Regions from separate parts of the Homo sapiens genome. Here regions 1, 2, 4 and 5 are each linked to region 3. The links are contacts of gene promoters, found by promoter capture Hi-C in blood cells and fetal thymus (Javierre and others, 2016). All regions are on one chromosome and are shown on one strand. Each heading gives the region's core, a stretch centred on a gene start or on the middle of the fragment in contact. The rest is flanking DNA. Distances are from core to core; before and after follow the strand shown. Region 1 has its middle 69 kb from the start of LINC03007. Region 2 has its middle 52 kb from the start of LINC03007. Region 3 holds the start of HOXA1 (homeobox A1). Region 4 has its middle 74 kb from the start of MIR148A. Region 5 has its middle 55 kb from the start of MIR148A.

What was found. Contacts are between HindIII fragments. The CHiCAGO score rates a contact against its expected background, and 5 or more counts as called.
Region 1: a fragment that was not itself captured here is called in contact with the fragment with the promoter of HOXA1 in region 3 in 10 of 17 cell types (total B cells, naive B cells, fetal thymus and 7 more); the score reaches 32.1 in total B cells.
Region 2: a contact is called between a fragment that was not itself captured here and the fragment with the promoter of HOXA1 in region 3, in 1 of 17 cell types (total B cells). The highest score is 10.3, in total B cells.
Region 4: a contact is called between a fragment that was not itself captured here and the fragment with the promoter of HOXA1 in region 3, in 2 of 17 cell types (naive B cells and total B cells). The highest score is 12.9, in naive B cells.
Region 5: a fragment that was not itself captured here is called in contact with the fragment with the promoter of HOXA1 in region 3 in 13 of 17 cell types (total B cells, naive B cells, M2 macrophages and 10 more); the score reaches 15.2 in total B cells.

Annotation. Positions count from the first base shown.
Region 1 is chr7:25,858,260-25,860,959 of GRCh38, reverse strand. No RefSeq gene overlaps it. Among named protein-coding and RNA genes, the nearest start is that of LINC03007, 69 kb to the right of the region's middle. The HindIII fragment of the contact is 9,868 bases long and covers 1-2,700 here.
Region 2 is chr7:25,840,691-25,843,390 of GRCh38, reverse strand. No RefSeq gene overlaps it. Among named protein-coding and RNA genes, the nearest start is that of LINC03007, 52 kb to the right of the region's middle. The HindIII fragment of the contact is 6,074 bases long and covers 1-2,700 here.
Region 3 is chr7:27,094,619-27,097,318 of GRCh38, reverse strand. HOXA1 (homeobox A1) reads left to right here and starts at 1,319. Exons shown (of 2, transcript NM_005522.5): 1 at 1,319-2,058; 2 at 2,524-2,700. The coding sequence starts at 1,407. HOTAIRM1 (HOXA transcript antisense RNA, myeloid-specific 1) reads right to left here and starts at 1,225. Exons shown (of 2, transcript NR_038367.1): 1 at 931-1,225. RefSeq lists enhancers at 357-929, 1,055-1,349, 2,231-2,700 and a silencer at 833-1,002. The HindIII fragment of the contact is 6,567 bases long and covers 1-2,700 here.
Region 4 is chr7:25,874,888-25,877,587 of GRCh38, reverse strand. No RefSeq gene overlaps it. Among named protein-coding and RNA genes, the nearest start is that of MIR148A, 74 kb to the left of the region's middle. The HindIII fragment of the contact is 3,960 bases long and covers 1-2,700 here.
Region 5 is chr7:25,893,467-25,896,166 of GRCh38, reverse strand. No RefSeq gene overlaps it. Among named protein-coding and RNA genes, the nearest start is that of MIR148A, 55 kb to the left of the region's middle. RefSeq lists an enhancer at 818-907. The HindIII fragment of the contact is 3,429 bases long and covers 1-2,700 here.

The DNA of each region.
Region 1 (2,700 bases), core at 199-2,698, 1.2 Mb after region 3:
TCCTATTCGTTTGGAAAGCTCGGTACTACAACAATGAATAAACATTGCAGACTGATGAATGCCCCCAAGTCCCTCCACAGAGGCGGCGGGGAGAGAACCAGATCTTAAAAAATTTTTCACTCTAGGCCTGGAGGCCGGGTGCTGCGGCCACCCGTGCCTCGACGTGTTCCTCCGCACGGGCTCTAGGAATGTAAATACCACGAGTTGAGACAGGTCTGGGCCCCGGACAGAGCGGTCCGTGGTTTTAGCAATTCATTTTAATTCCGAAGCGGTCCAGTGCATTTGCTTTCACTTGGTTGCGCGGGGCTGGAATTGATAAGAGAGAAAACCATGTACTTGTCCTTGTGGGTTGGGAAACAGGGTCACTGAATCCTGGGCTGGCTCTCACAGCTTCCTGGCAGAGTTCACACACGCACTCAGAGGCTGCGCCAGCCCTGTACCGCAGGACTGCGGGCGCTCCCTTGCCGGCACTCCTCCTTCGGTTCAGAAACCAAAGTGGAAACGCATGGATCAAGTTGCAGGGAAGTCTGACATCTGGGACAGATGTTGCTCCTCTGCCCGTGGCGGTTCCTCAGATAAATCCTCATTGCTTTATTTTAATTTGCCTTTGAATTTCGTTATTTTTGCCTCAATGCAACACATAGTCTTTTTTTTTTCTGCTTTATTTAACTCTCACGGTCCTCTGCGCTATTTTTATCAATGGTATAACTTTATTTTGGGAAAGGGATTATTTCCCCCTCAGAAATGGGGGGAAATAATCAAATCTCCAGTCAATTATGTCTTGAAATTTAACTCTGCTTTTACTGGTCCATCATAAAACATTTAAACCGTTAAAAACATGTCCCTCACTGATCAACTTTAGTTGTTTTGTGTTTTAAAACATGGAAATACAACCCCTGTGTGTGTATGTCACATTACGGACAGACCATATTAATCTCTTTCTCACAGAAAAAACATCTGCGTGTGTGAGTCTAAGTAATTATTCATCTAGGGTAACAAATTCTAGAAGGCTTGACCTACCTTCCTTCCTCCCTTCCTTCCTCCCTTCCTTCCTTCTTTCCTTCCTTCCTTCCTTTTTCTTTTCCTTTCTCTTTTTCTTTTTTTGTGCTTCTTTGTATCTAATACCCAGGGGCATTAACAACATCTCCTCTGCCTCGTCTTCCCGTGTGTAGAGGGACCCGTCTCACGTCCAACAATAGATACCCCTTTTATTATATATTTTTCCTTTTGTTTTTCTTGACCAACAATTTCCCTTCAGTTATTTATTTTAGCTGGGTAACCCCAAGCTATATGCTCCGTGTAAACCAGAATGGTGTGGTCGGTTTTGTGACAGGTAGTGGCTTCCTGAGCTGGCTCTGATGCGCACCTCTGAGGCGAGCCAAGGCGGAAACTGTCATTCCTAGAGGAAAGCGATGCCCGTCTGGGAAGAATCTGGGAAACCCCAGCATTCCTATGAGCTGCGGCCCACTAAGCGCCCCTGACCGCAGTGATCACTGTCTCCTAGATTTTTTGACAATGTTGTTTTGCTTTGTTTTAAAATATTATCGTTACTGCTGAGAAACGTGGACTCTTATGATGAAGACCTGCCGGGCCTTCCCCAGCCATTTCACTCCCTGGCCTCCTCCAAGATGGCTTTCATTTAGGGAGGGTCAGACTCATCTAGGTGACATTTCCCCGAGCCTTTCAGTCAAGTTGGTCTACAAATTCACCAAATTAGTGCTTGGTCTACATCTAGGGCTTCCTGCACGGAAAGGCCAATAGAAAAGTCCACGACTTGACTTTTACGCCACATCACTACAGCCACAAAACGGGGACCTCCTCGGGACTGGAGGCGGATCCTCCACGGGTCCCCGGCCAGGCCCATCCTCCTCGCAGCGCGCCTGGTGCGGCCGTACCAATTCCGCGCCGTGCAGCCTGGAGTTACAGGCCCCGACCGAGCCAAGATCTGAGGCTGCCGGGCCCTCCCTGTTTACTGGGGGCTCTGCTACCGGAAGTCATTTGACAAATCTCAGGCAGGCCTTTCTAATCTTTACTGCTCGGCAGAGCTTTGCAAATCTCTAAACACGCTGTAACCTTCTTCAAACAGCACGCCAGACACACTTGAAGGTTTTTTTTTTTTTTTTGAGGCCGGACGGAATGGAAACTGCATCTGCACGGGATCTCTCCACAGTCTGGCCCGCAACACTGCCAGCACCTTCCCTAGACCCTCGCCTCCCCGCTTCCCCCGCACGCGGATTCTCGCGCATCCGTGCGCCCACTCAGCCCCGGGAGCCCTCCTGCCCCGGGAAGCCTCAGACGGTCTTGGGCTGGAGACTCACCCTGCGCCCCTGCAGCGGGCTGCGGGGAGAGAACCTTGGGGAACCAGGCAGGACCGGCAAGGGTGGACCGAGTGATTTATGACCCTGATCAAACTTTTTAGGAAGCAGAAATTAACCTGAGGGAGATTAGGCCTGAGCTTTGAAGTTCACGGTTTTGTTTTCCTTCAGCCCAGTTCTGCCATCAGATGGTTCTTGGTTCCTTCTACCCCTCTCCTCCTCCCCCTCCTTCGGTCTCTCGTCACCCCACTTTATCCTCCAGCAACCCCTCCTGCGTTGATTTTCTTAATTTCAAATACAAATATCTGAACACCAGAAACTGAAGTTCCTGACAGTGACCTATTGAACAGAGGCATCGCATACTCCCTACATCCCAGTCTTCTTG
Region 2 (2,700 bases), core at 62-2,561, 1.3 Mb after region 3:
AAGCCAAGGCCTTTTGCATTCTTCTAATTGTCATTACAGGGCAAACCCATGCAATAATGTCATGACTTATAATGCCAAATATTTTTGCTTTTGGTGGTCCCCTGAGTCTCAGAGACAGAAGCAGGAGCTACTTTGTTTATTCATGATGCATTTATTGAGCCCTTACATCATTTGAGGCACTGTCCCGGACCCTGTGGAGACTGAAGATGAACGGGACCTGGATCCTGCTCTCGAGGGGTGGGGATGAAGTGGTGAGGCTGAGGCATGCGCATATCAAGGCACGAAGGCATGTCTGAAAATGCGGGTGTTGCAGAGGTGCAGGAAATTCCTATGGAAGGTCAGAGTCAAGAGAGATTGTATGTACCTTGTACATGAGATGAGGCTTCTTGGAGGAGGTGGCATTTAACTAGGTGAATAATATGGGCAAATCCAGAAAAGGTGATATCAAGTGGGAATGGTATTTTTACTCCATTTTCCTTGAAAAAAATGACTGTAGGTACATGTATTTTTTATGGAAATTAGGGTCAGAAAATGATCTGAGTGGATTTTACTTCAACTTCCAGCTCTAGATTTTTTTTGTACAAGGCATGTGACTTTAAAGCAAGAAAAGTGTAAAAATTAAAAATGCAAGACAGAAGAGCAAGTCAATATGGGCGTTGTGGGTCACAAAGGGCATTTCTTCCACATTAGAGTAATTCATCAGGTCATTGTGCCAGATAAATATAATATCTGAAATCAAAAAGCATGAGCAAAGTTTGAAAACTCTCCATTTCCACATGTGACCTTTACCTATTTATAGAAGGAATCACAGTGGAATAAGGCAATCATCCTTTCTCGGAAAGCAAGAAGGATGCATTTCCTGGCACCGTAAATAGAATGTCTGTGAGTCTCTGGCCACCCCCTCTCCTTAGCAGACAGCAGACAGTGGACGGTAACAGCCCCTGTCTTTTGGGTAGGAATAATTAATGGGGCAAGCGTATGTCTGTGGCTTTTGAGCAGCTAAGGTGAAACTGCTTGTCCATTTCAGCTTTCACTTAAACCACTGGGACACTTACTTCCTGAGTCAATGGTGAGTCTGCAGTGCTAACAAAAGACTCCCATTGATTATTGCCGTGTAGTAATTGCTGCCAGTGTGAGGCTGTCCCTCACAATTTGTTGACATCTCTTGACAATTTAAATATGGCCCATGCTAAAGGCCTGAAGCCATCAGAATGCAGGGTGAGGAATGAAAAGGCAAATATGAACTTTTCCAGCAAACTCAAGTGCAGGGTGCAAAAAAGCATCTCCAGTGATGACATTTTAATTGTACATTAGGAGTCTTTTCAGTGGAGCCTCCTGGCTCTGCTTATGCTGAGAGGTTGCTAGTAAGCTAAATCCCAGTAGTCCCCACAATACTTTGTAAATAAGAGGAGGCAGTGATGTATCCATTAGTACATGAACATCCCCTCGGATTTTAAAACAAAGGCATGTTAGGAACCACCAGAAGGAAAGGTTTCATATCATGGGTGAGGTGGAAGTTGGCAGCTGCATCTGGAAAACCAGTTTGCAACTCAGCTGCGCTTGATGCTCTGCAAACTGACCAGGGTTCAGCAAACTGTGGCCGTGGCCCAAATCCAGCTCCATGCCTGCTTGTTGTAAATAAAGTTTTATTGGAACACAGCCATGTTCACTTGTTTATATATTGTATATGGCTGCTTTCCTTCTACAACAGCAGAGTTGCTGTTGGACAGACTGTATGGCCTGCAAAGCTGAAAATAATCTACTATCTGGCCCTTTACAGAAAGAGTTTGCAGATCCCTACCCTAGATTAATGTATGCTGAAGGATGATTTTCATATTAAGCCACCAAATTAAATGTTTTGTAGGAGATTCTGTAGTCCTAGAGAAGCTGTACAAATATGTGTGGGCTTTGAGGCCTAGAAATCTGGGCTTGAGAGAAACAGGGCTATACCCTTCCCTTATTATAAAAACTTTTAAAACTTTTCTGCATCATTCTCATTCTACTTCTCTAAGATACTCATGTTCTTAGCTAAAAGTTCCCGCCTCCTGTGACTTTAGGGATCATGGGAAAACTGGTGGAATTTTATTTCCCTTGGAGCCTTACAATCTAAACTGCTAATTCTTAAATGGAGGTGTAAACGCTTTTGATTGACATTTGGTTTAAGTATGACCATTAAAAACTCCCAGTGCCACAGGTAGATTTAGTAAAAGTTAACCATGCTTGTTCTGGCATTCCATAGTTAAATTTAAGTTTTATGGACTGCTTAGAGAAAGAATTCTTTATAGCTGGGAAGGAATTAACCTTTAAGGCACCAGTTTGCTGTAATTGTTAAAATTAGCATAGTTACTTGGGTGAAAAACTCTAAAATGTTCTATACTCTTGCTTGCTTTGGCAGCACATATACCAAAATGTTCTCTACTCTTTTATTGTAAAGGTCCCTAGTTTAGGTCTGTCACCAACATGGATGCTGAATTGAGACCCAGCACTAGAGGTCACTTCCTACCCTCAATGTTATAAAACTCTTATACATGTGGAGAAGATGTCCTTTGCCTTGGATGAAAAGCCAGCAGATTGTAGTGTTGAGAAAGATCCTGAGGATGCATCCAGGAGCAGTAGGGAAGAACTCCACGATCGATATCAATGGTTGATATCTGTGATGCTTCAAGACAGAAAGTGATGGCAACTCATGCTGCGTAATTG
Region 3 (2,700 bases), core at 70-2,569:
GTGTCGTTGGGGTAAAGTGTCCCGTCCACCATCAGCCATTTGTCCACCGCCCCTCCCACCTGCCAGCCCCCACACCCACTCTAGACGTGCAGCAGAATGAGGAAGGTTATAAAAGGAAGCTCTCTCTCTCTTCTAACATTCCCCTCCAGAAAAAGAGGAACGCAACGAAGGGAGTTCAGCTACTATGTTGGAGCTGTGGACCGGCCCTGTGAGGCCCACGCGGGAGCGCGGAGGCTCCTGGGTCTCAGGGCGCCGGCAGATGGCCTGCAGCGCACCGCCCGGCCCCCGCGCTGGCCACGTCCGCCAGCGTCATCTCTCTCCCCCGCCTCCTACCCCTAAAAATCCGGCGGTCGAGTAGCTCCGCATCCCGGAGGGCTCCCGGTGCAAAACTGAGTGGGAAAGAGAAAGGGGCGGAGAGCGACGAGAGAGGGAAGGTGGGGAAGAAGAGCCCGGCCGCCCCCGGCCTTTTCCGGCGAGCTCTGAGTTTCCAGGGCTCATCCGCCCCTCCAAGTCGAATTACAGAAACTCCTCATTGCCATGCTAATGACGAGAGGGGCTGTGGGGAGAGGGTTTCGAAGACCCTCCTGGAAGAAGGGAAGTTTCTTTTCTTGCCCTCGTCTCCTTCACGCCCACCCGAGTTCCTCCCAGCCAGCCCTCTGCGCTCTTCCCCCTCCATTCCGAGCTTGAAGAGCCGGTGGCCCAGCCTCGCCCTCCACCACGGTTCTATGCGCTCCTCACAGCCCCACGGTCTCCCAGCCCAGCCTCAGAACAGAGGAGGTGGCCTGGGAACCCGGGGCGCGGTGTCAGCCGGATTCCCCGCCTTCCGGCTGGGCGCGCTGCGGGCTGGGCCGGCGTACTTGCGGCCACCCGGCGAGCTCTGGCCCACTGATTCCCGCCCCGAGAGAGCCGGGAGCCCTCTTCCCTTCTCACCTCTCGCCAGTTCATCTTTCATTGAACGGTGGGGAGGGGGCGGGAGCGGGGGACGCCTCCCAGCCCCCACCTCCCGGAGGCCTGGCGGGGCGGGCAGCGGAGTCGGGCGCGCGCAGAACGCAGCTTTTGCTCTTCTTCGCTCCAGCACTCCAAATCGGCCTTTGCAGTCGCCGCAGCAGCTGCCGCCGCCTAGGCTGCCTGGGGGGGCGACTGCGCGTCACCTAGACGGCGGAGCGCCGGGGATTTAAATGCCACTAAAACGGTGATCCATCACTGCGGAAGCCGGCAAACTTTTGCAGGAGGCTCAGCCATTGGCTGACACCGTCACGTGCCCCTCCTCCAGCGTCCTCCGCCCTCCCGCCCCCCCTCTTGCGCACTGTACATTCATATCATTTTTCTTCTCCGGCCCCATGGAGGAAGTGAGAAAGTTGGCACAGTCACGCCGGGCTTCGCAGGACCAGGTCACTCAGTGACAGATGGACAATGCAAGAATGAACTCCTTCCTGGAATACCCCATACTTAGCAGTGGCGACTCGGGGACCTGCTCAGCCCGAGCCTACCCCTCGGACCATAGGATTACAACTTTCCAGTCGTGCGCGGTCAGCGCCAACAGTTGCGGCGGCGACGACCGCTTCCTAGTGGGCAGGGGGGTGCAGATCGGTTCGCCCCACCACCACCACCACCACCACCATCGCCACCCCCAGCCGGCTACCTACCAGACTTCCGGGAACCTGGGGGTGTCCTACTCCCACTCAAGTTGTGGTCCAAGCTATGGCTCACAGAACTTCAGTGCGCCTTACAGCCCCTACGCGTTAAATCAGGAAGCAGACGTAAGTGGTGGGTACCCCCAGTGCGCTCCCGCTGTTTACTCTGGAAATCTCTCATCTCCCATGGTCCAGCATCACCACCACCACCAGGGTTATGCTGGGGGCGCGGTGGGCTCGCCTCAATACATTCACCACTCATATGGACAGGAGCACCAGAGCCTGGCCCTGGCTACGTATAATAACTCCTTGTCCCCTCTCCACGCCAGCCACCAAGAAGCCTGTCGCTCCCCCGCATCGGAGACATCTTCTCCAGCGCAGACTTTTGACTGGATGAAAGTCAAAAGAAACCCTCCCAAAACAGGTCAGTCCTGCTGGTTGGTGGATGCTCCTTGATTATTCTGGAAGGAGCTGGTATGCTTAATTTCCAAGGAAATTAATAATGATCTTTTTTTTAAAAGGCTTTTGTATCAGACTAGTGTTGTAGTGCATGGAGAGGGTGCCCAGAGGTGTTGGGGCAAAGAAGTCTCAGGGATTGGTGTGTTTTCAAGGATTTTATACATTTGGGAAATAGGAAGTATGTGGGGGTGGTTATTGTGACGGTAGTGTTCTGTTAATATCTTGAGGCTCCATTAATCACCGGTCTGACCATGCTAATGGTTTACATCAGGTTAACACTTTACACCTCATCACTCACCCTCCACAGCCCGATTTGTGCTGAGTTCTTGATCTTTTCTTTACCTGAGTGTTGCCATGAAGCGTGTGGGGAATCTCAAGTCGATTTAAAAATTTTTACATTTCCGTCTCATGGCTTCCCACTTTGCCCCAGGGAAAGTTGGAGAGTACGGCTACCTGGGTCAACCCAACGCGGTGCGCACCAACTTCACTACCAAGCAGCTCACGGAACTGGAGAAGGAGTTCCACTTCAACAAGTACCTGACGCGCGCCCGCAGGGTGGAGATCGCTGCATCCCTGCAGCTCAACGAGACCCAAGTGAAGATCTGGT
Region 4 (2,700 bases), core at 75-2,574, 1.2 Mb after region 3:
GTCTAATTTTGTTTACATGATTCATACAGTTTCCAAGAGTATCCCTGGAGAACATTAGACTGGCACCACATGCATAAACATTCATATATAACATGTAAATTAGAAACAATCTCAGGATTTATATAGAAATTACAGCCACTTCTAGCAAATTAATTCAATGACAGAAAAAGGGTTACTGTCTCTCTTCAAATCAAGAGGGGGAAATATTGGGCAAAGCAGATTTATTTATTCCAGGGTCTTGTTCCTTGCCAGGAGCTGATGTCCCCTTGGCCTGGAGATTTCCATTTTTTTTGTTGGATATGTATTGGTGATTGAATTTACTTTGAATATAGGAGCAGTCAGTGAGGACCATAATGGGCTGTTTTAAGTTATAGCATAGCTAATACAGTCATAAAGTCAATTGGGCTAGAAGAGTTTGCAATAGGGAAATGATGGAAGAAGGCAAGTTAAAATATTCAAGATTATTGAATCTTAGAGCTGCAAAGCCCCAAGAGCGCAAACTTACCATTTCATAGATGAAAATACTGAGCCCCAGAGAAGATGTAGTCCACCCAAGAAAACAAAGAACATGATTGATAAAGTCAAACCAGAAACTGAGTCTTCTCCCCTGTAGTTAAGTGCCCTGAACACTTCATGAAGTCCCTCATCTTTGATATTAAAATAGAATGGGCAAGTGACATTTTCTTGGAGAATTCTGTGCTGAGCTCTTTTGTTGGTGATTTTGCTACTAGGAACTGTGGCAGACTGTCAAAAAGGCCCCAATTCTTCAACTTCCCTGTGTGTCCTTCTCAATGTGACTTTGTAGTCCTTGAATCTGGGCTGGGCAAAGTCACAAACTTGCTTTGGCCAACAGAAGGCAATGAAGTACCAGCCGAGTCTAGACTCCAGAGAACCAAGCAAGTTCCACTGTGCTTCCCCTGCCGGCCACGGAGCTGTGCCTGTGCTAGCCTGCTAGAGGGATGGGGAGACTCACAGGTAGGCTTGCCAGATTCAGCAAACATTTGGGATATACTTACACTAAAAAAGTATCTATTGTTTATCTGTAATTCCAATTTAACTGGGTATCCTGCATTTTATCTGTCAACTGTACACATAGAAGAGCTCCCAGAGACATAGTTCTGTATTAGTCAGCCAAGCCTAACCCCCAAACATATGAGTGAGCCTGGCCAAAATCAGCAGATACATCTTCCCAATCCCTGGTTGATGACAAGTGCACAAGTGAACCCAATTGACACCATCAGAACCGGCCTTAGACTCAATAACAAAAAATCAGTATTGACTGACATGTAGACACTGAGGTTTGGTGGCTGTTTGTTACACAGTATTATTGTGGCAGTAGCTGACTAATACAAGGACCGTCAGTGTAAAAAATGTTCTGGGAAAATAAATTAGATTGGAGTGATCTAATTGGTCACTTCAGATGCGAGTGATCTAATTGTTGTGATATCTCCTATGTATTCTATACAGAAATAGCAGGAAAGCAATATCTTGACATGCATTCCAATACTACAATATCCAGCGTAAGTACACATTAATAGATGTATCTTGTGCGTGTTTCTGCCTTTGTGGGGCCTTGCAATTGTTCTGGCATTTTGTTTTAAATGACCCAGTTTGAGGTTTTACATCTTTGTTACAGAAGAAAATGCCAGAATGAGACAATGTAGCCTTTTCAACTTCCTCTAGCCCTTTGATACGTTCTCTCTGGATTAGTGTTTCTTCTGCTGTTTCTTTTCTGCCTTTATATGACCCCTTTCTCACCCTTCAGGGAGGTGGATGATTTAAGTGAAGGTTGGTTCTCCCTGCCCTGTAATTGTGCTTCATCTCCACTCATGGTTACATTTCCAAAGCTCAGATTCATCTATCAGAGGCCCTGAACTATGTATCTTGTCGTTGTATTAGGTTGGTGCAAAAGGAATAGCAAAAACACAATTTCTTTTGCACTGAGGTTGGTGCAAACCAAGGTTGGTGCAAAACTTTTCAAAGCACATTCACATTTATTACTTCACTGATTCCCCATAATCTCCCCATGAGAACAATTGGGCCAGGCATTGGTATCTCCCTTTGCAGATGAGGAAGCTGAGTCTCAGAGAGTTCAAGTGATTTTCCCAAGGTCACACAGCCTATCTAATGGAAGAATTAAAACTAGAACCCAGATTCTTGTTTCCTAACCTGGGACTCTGTCTGGTATCCTCTGCTGACTCCTTCATTCTGGGGCTTTGGCTAATTGATGTCATAGCCAGGTGTTTGATGGGTACCTGAATAATATTTCTGTCTAGGAGTGATTCGAGTGGAAACAGGGCATTCTTAAAGAGGCCATTAGAAATCCCCAGACCTCCACTAAAGCAGGTTTTGGTGCAGATGACTGACGACTGTATAAATGCCTTCACCTTGTAACAGCCGGTCTCAGCCTCCAGAACAGAGTCCTACATTGTGGATTAATCGCTCCATATCTCTGTTTTAAAATCATGTTATGGTCTTTTAAAGGTATGTTTTAAGATGTAATGTTCTGCAAGGAGACATGGTCCATTTAAAAGCAGTGCTGCTTTAAGGTTGCTGGTTGAGGAGAACAATTGAATGCAGATGAAGGGAAAAGTACCAGGAAACGTCTTTTTCTCTGAATCTATAAAGCAAAGGCATAAGCCACCCACCAAAATGTTAGACTTGCCTTGATTCTTTTTTTTCTTTTTAGAGATGACCTCT
Region 5 (2,700 bases), core at 52-2,551, 1.2 Mb after region 3:
TTGTGTCAGGTGCTAGTGGATTCAAACAATACATATTGTGGGAACCATCAATAGCTTTGGTAGTCAGGATTCTTTAGTTTGCAGGGGACAGAAAAAAGGCTTGGCAGGCTGGAGGGTAGAGGGGCAGGGTTCCGCAGAAGATTCCCAGGAATGGTTTTTAGTTGGCCAAGGACTCTGGTGGAGGAAGGGGGATGCTGAGTGGCCTAGGTCAGGCACTTACCCGACCCTCCCTAACTCCTCCTTCTGAAATCAGAGAGGGAGGAATCTGTGATAGAAGAAGGAGGAAAAGGAATGGATAGCCCCAAACACTGCGCACTATAATAGTTAATCATATTGATAGTGAGCGCGCGGTCTCTCTCTCTCTTTCTCTCCAGGCAGCCAAAGACTGCCACCATATGCAACTGGGTCCTGCATTTTTCATCTGCATCACCAATTTGTCACTCGAAAACCCAGGTCTCAATCCTCCCTGATTTTTCCAGAAACACCACTAGTATCCAATTCAGTAGGTCCCTATCATGGGCAGTGCGGGGGCGCCGGGCGTGGGCGACGCTCGTGTGTGACTCGCAGCTGGGCAGCCATCCCCGCGGGCGTCCTGGCTCCCCTTCCCTCTGAAAGCGCCGGGGCGGGCCAGCAGGGGGCGAGTTTCATTTCCGCACCGGAGACCCAGCCGGAATCACAAATGCCGCGAACTACACCCTCCTTTCCTGATCTGGCCAGGAGTCTGTGTCATTAAAACTCTCAGTTCTGCTTTTCCCTATATTAACATTATCTTCATTTTGAGCACATCACGTTCAGTGACAGAAAAGGAGATCCCATGAGTCACTGGAGGTAGACTTAAAATAGCTTAAGGATGATATTTCATGGATGTTAGTGACATCAGTCGAAGAAGCAGTGCTTTCAAAGAGCAGAATTCCTCATATTCACTCTTCGGATACCCAGCAGTTTTCCAGGTCTTGGTCTATACCCAGCCTTTTTCTTGGAGGAAGGTGCTCATCTTCCCACACAGGCTACACAGGGGGCAGGGAAAGTTGGGACAGGTGGCACAAGGCCATGTGAAGCCCCCCGTCCTCCTGCCGGGGCATCTTACATATTGCTGCCACTGCCGAGGGGGCATATCTGTGTATAGCTGCCCAGCAGAGTACAGGGAAGGTGTTATGTGGGAAGGAAGACTCCTGGGTGGGTAGGAGTTTGGGCTAAGTCCCTCCTGGTCCAGGTAACTTAGCTGGCCCCTGCAGATATGAGTGGTGGGAGACGGGATCCGGCGGGTGAGAGAGGGGAACCACAGAACCACAGGCTTTTCTCAGGTCGGGGAAAGACCTTAGAGATCACTTAGCTCAATGTCTTCTTTTCCTGACGCCCAGGGAAATTGTGAACAAATTCACCACCACAGAACTAGGCAAGTCCCCTGGTGGGCAAATGGACACCTTCACAGAAGCCATTTTCTTTCCTTGTGTATTATGTATCAAAGGCTAACTGTTTAACAAGCAACCCCGTGTCACAGTGGCTTAACACAAAACAAGTTATTTCTTGCTCTTGGACCACTGAAAGCGTTTCTTGGACAGCTTCCATGCAGTGATTCAGGGACCCAGGCACCTTTCATTCTGTGGCCCCACCATCCCTAAGGGCCTTAATGTTTGCTGCTGAGTACTCTGCATCTGGCTGTGACAGGTAGAGAGAGAGAATGAAGGACTGTGCAGGAGGTGGGCAGGCCTCACTGCCACTCACATTCCACTAGCTAGACGCCACTCTCAGGGCCAACCTTCCCCCAAGGGGAGCTGGGAAATGTAGTCCAGCTGTGTGCACAGGAAGCAGATAGGATGGCTCGGGGCAAGCACACAGCAGTGTCTGCCTCACCTATCTTCAAAGAAAACAGTCTTTGAGTTCTTTTGGGTTATTTACACTGGGTAGCAGAAGGCACATGATCTTTGGAGGTGGACAGACTTGGGTTTGGATATTGGCAGTGTGACCTTGGGCAAAGAAGTAACCTTTAGCCTCAGTTTGCTCAGCTGGTAAATGGGGCTATCTTGTGGGTATTACCTGAGGTAAGGAATGTAACTTGTCTATGTTACCACGTGGTCTCACATGTTTGTTTGTACAAACCAATGGGGCTGGGAGTATTGTTGGGGGAGGAGGAAACAGACTTCCTGTGTCCCATTTCCCCCACTCTGGATGGCAGCACTGCCCAACAGCTTCATTAGACGCCAAGAGTGGTGGCACTTTCTTCTGTCACTTGTTAAATTTCGATGTAGTTCATTCTAATCAATATGGGACTTTGGAAGGAAAAAAAGCATTCCCCAAACCCACAAGCAACCATTTTATTTGATTCATAAAAATTCAGTCACTGAGAAGGCAGTTCCAGCAAGAGAGTTTTGATCCTTCTTGCTCAGGCTGAGATGGTCACATCTAGAAAGCAGTGATTTTAAAATCCTATTTTCTTCTGAAAAAAAAAAAAATTTTTCTGAAGGGCAGTGAAAAGAGAAATAATCTAAGCTGAAGTGTCACTTTTCACTTATGGATATTGATGCTCTAAGACTAAATCTGGCTGACAGGAGTAAAGAGAACTGCCTTCTCATCATGGGTGAGACCCTGCAGGGTGAGATGTGGCTCAGGTATCATGGTGTGCCCAGGGACTGGCACATTAGGGGCTTCAATAAATATTTGCTGGTTAAATTAATAGGTGATTGAAGACAGTTACAGAAG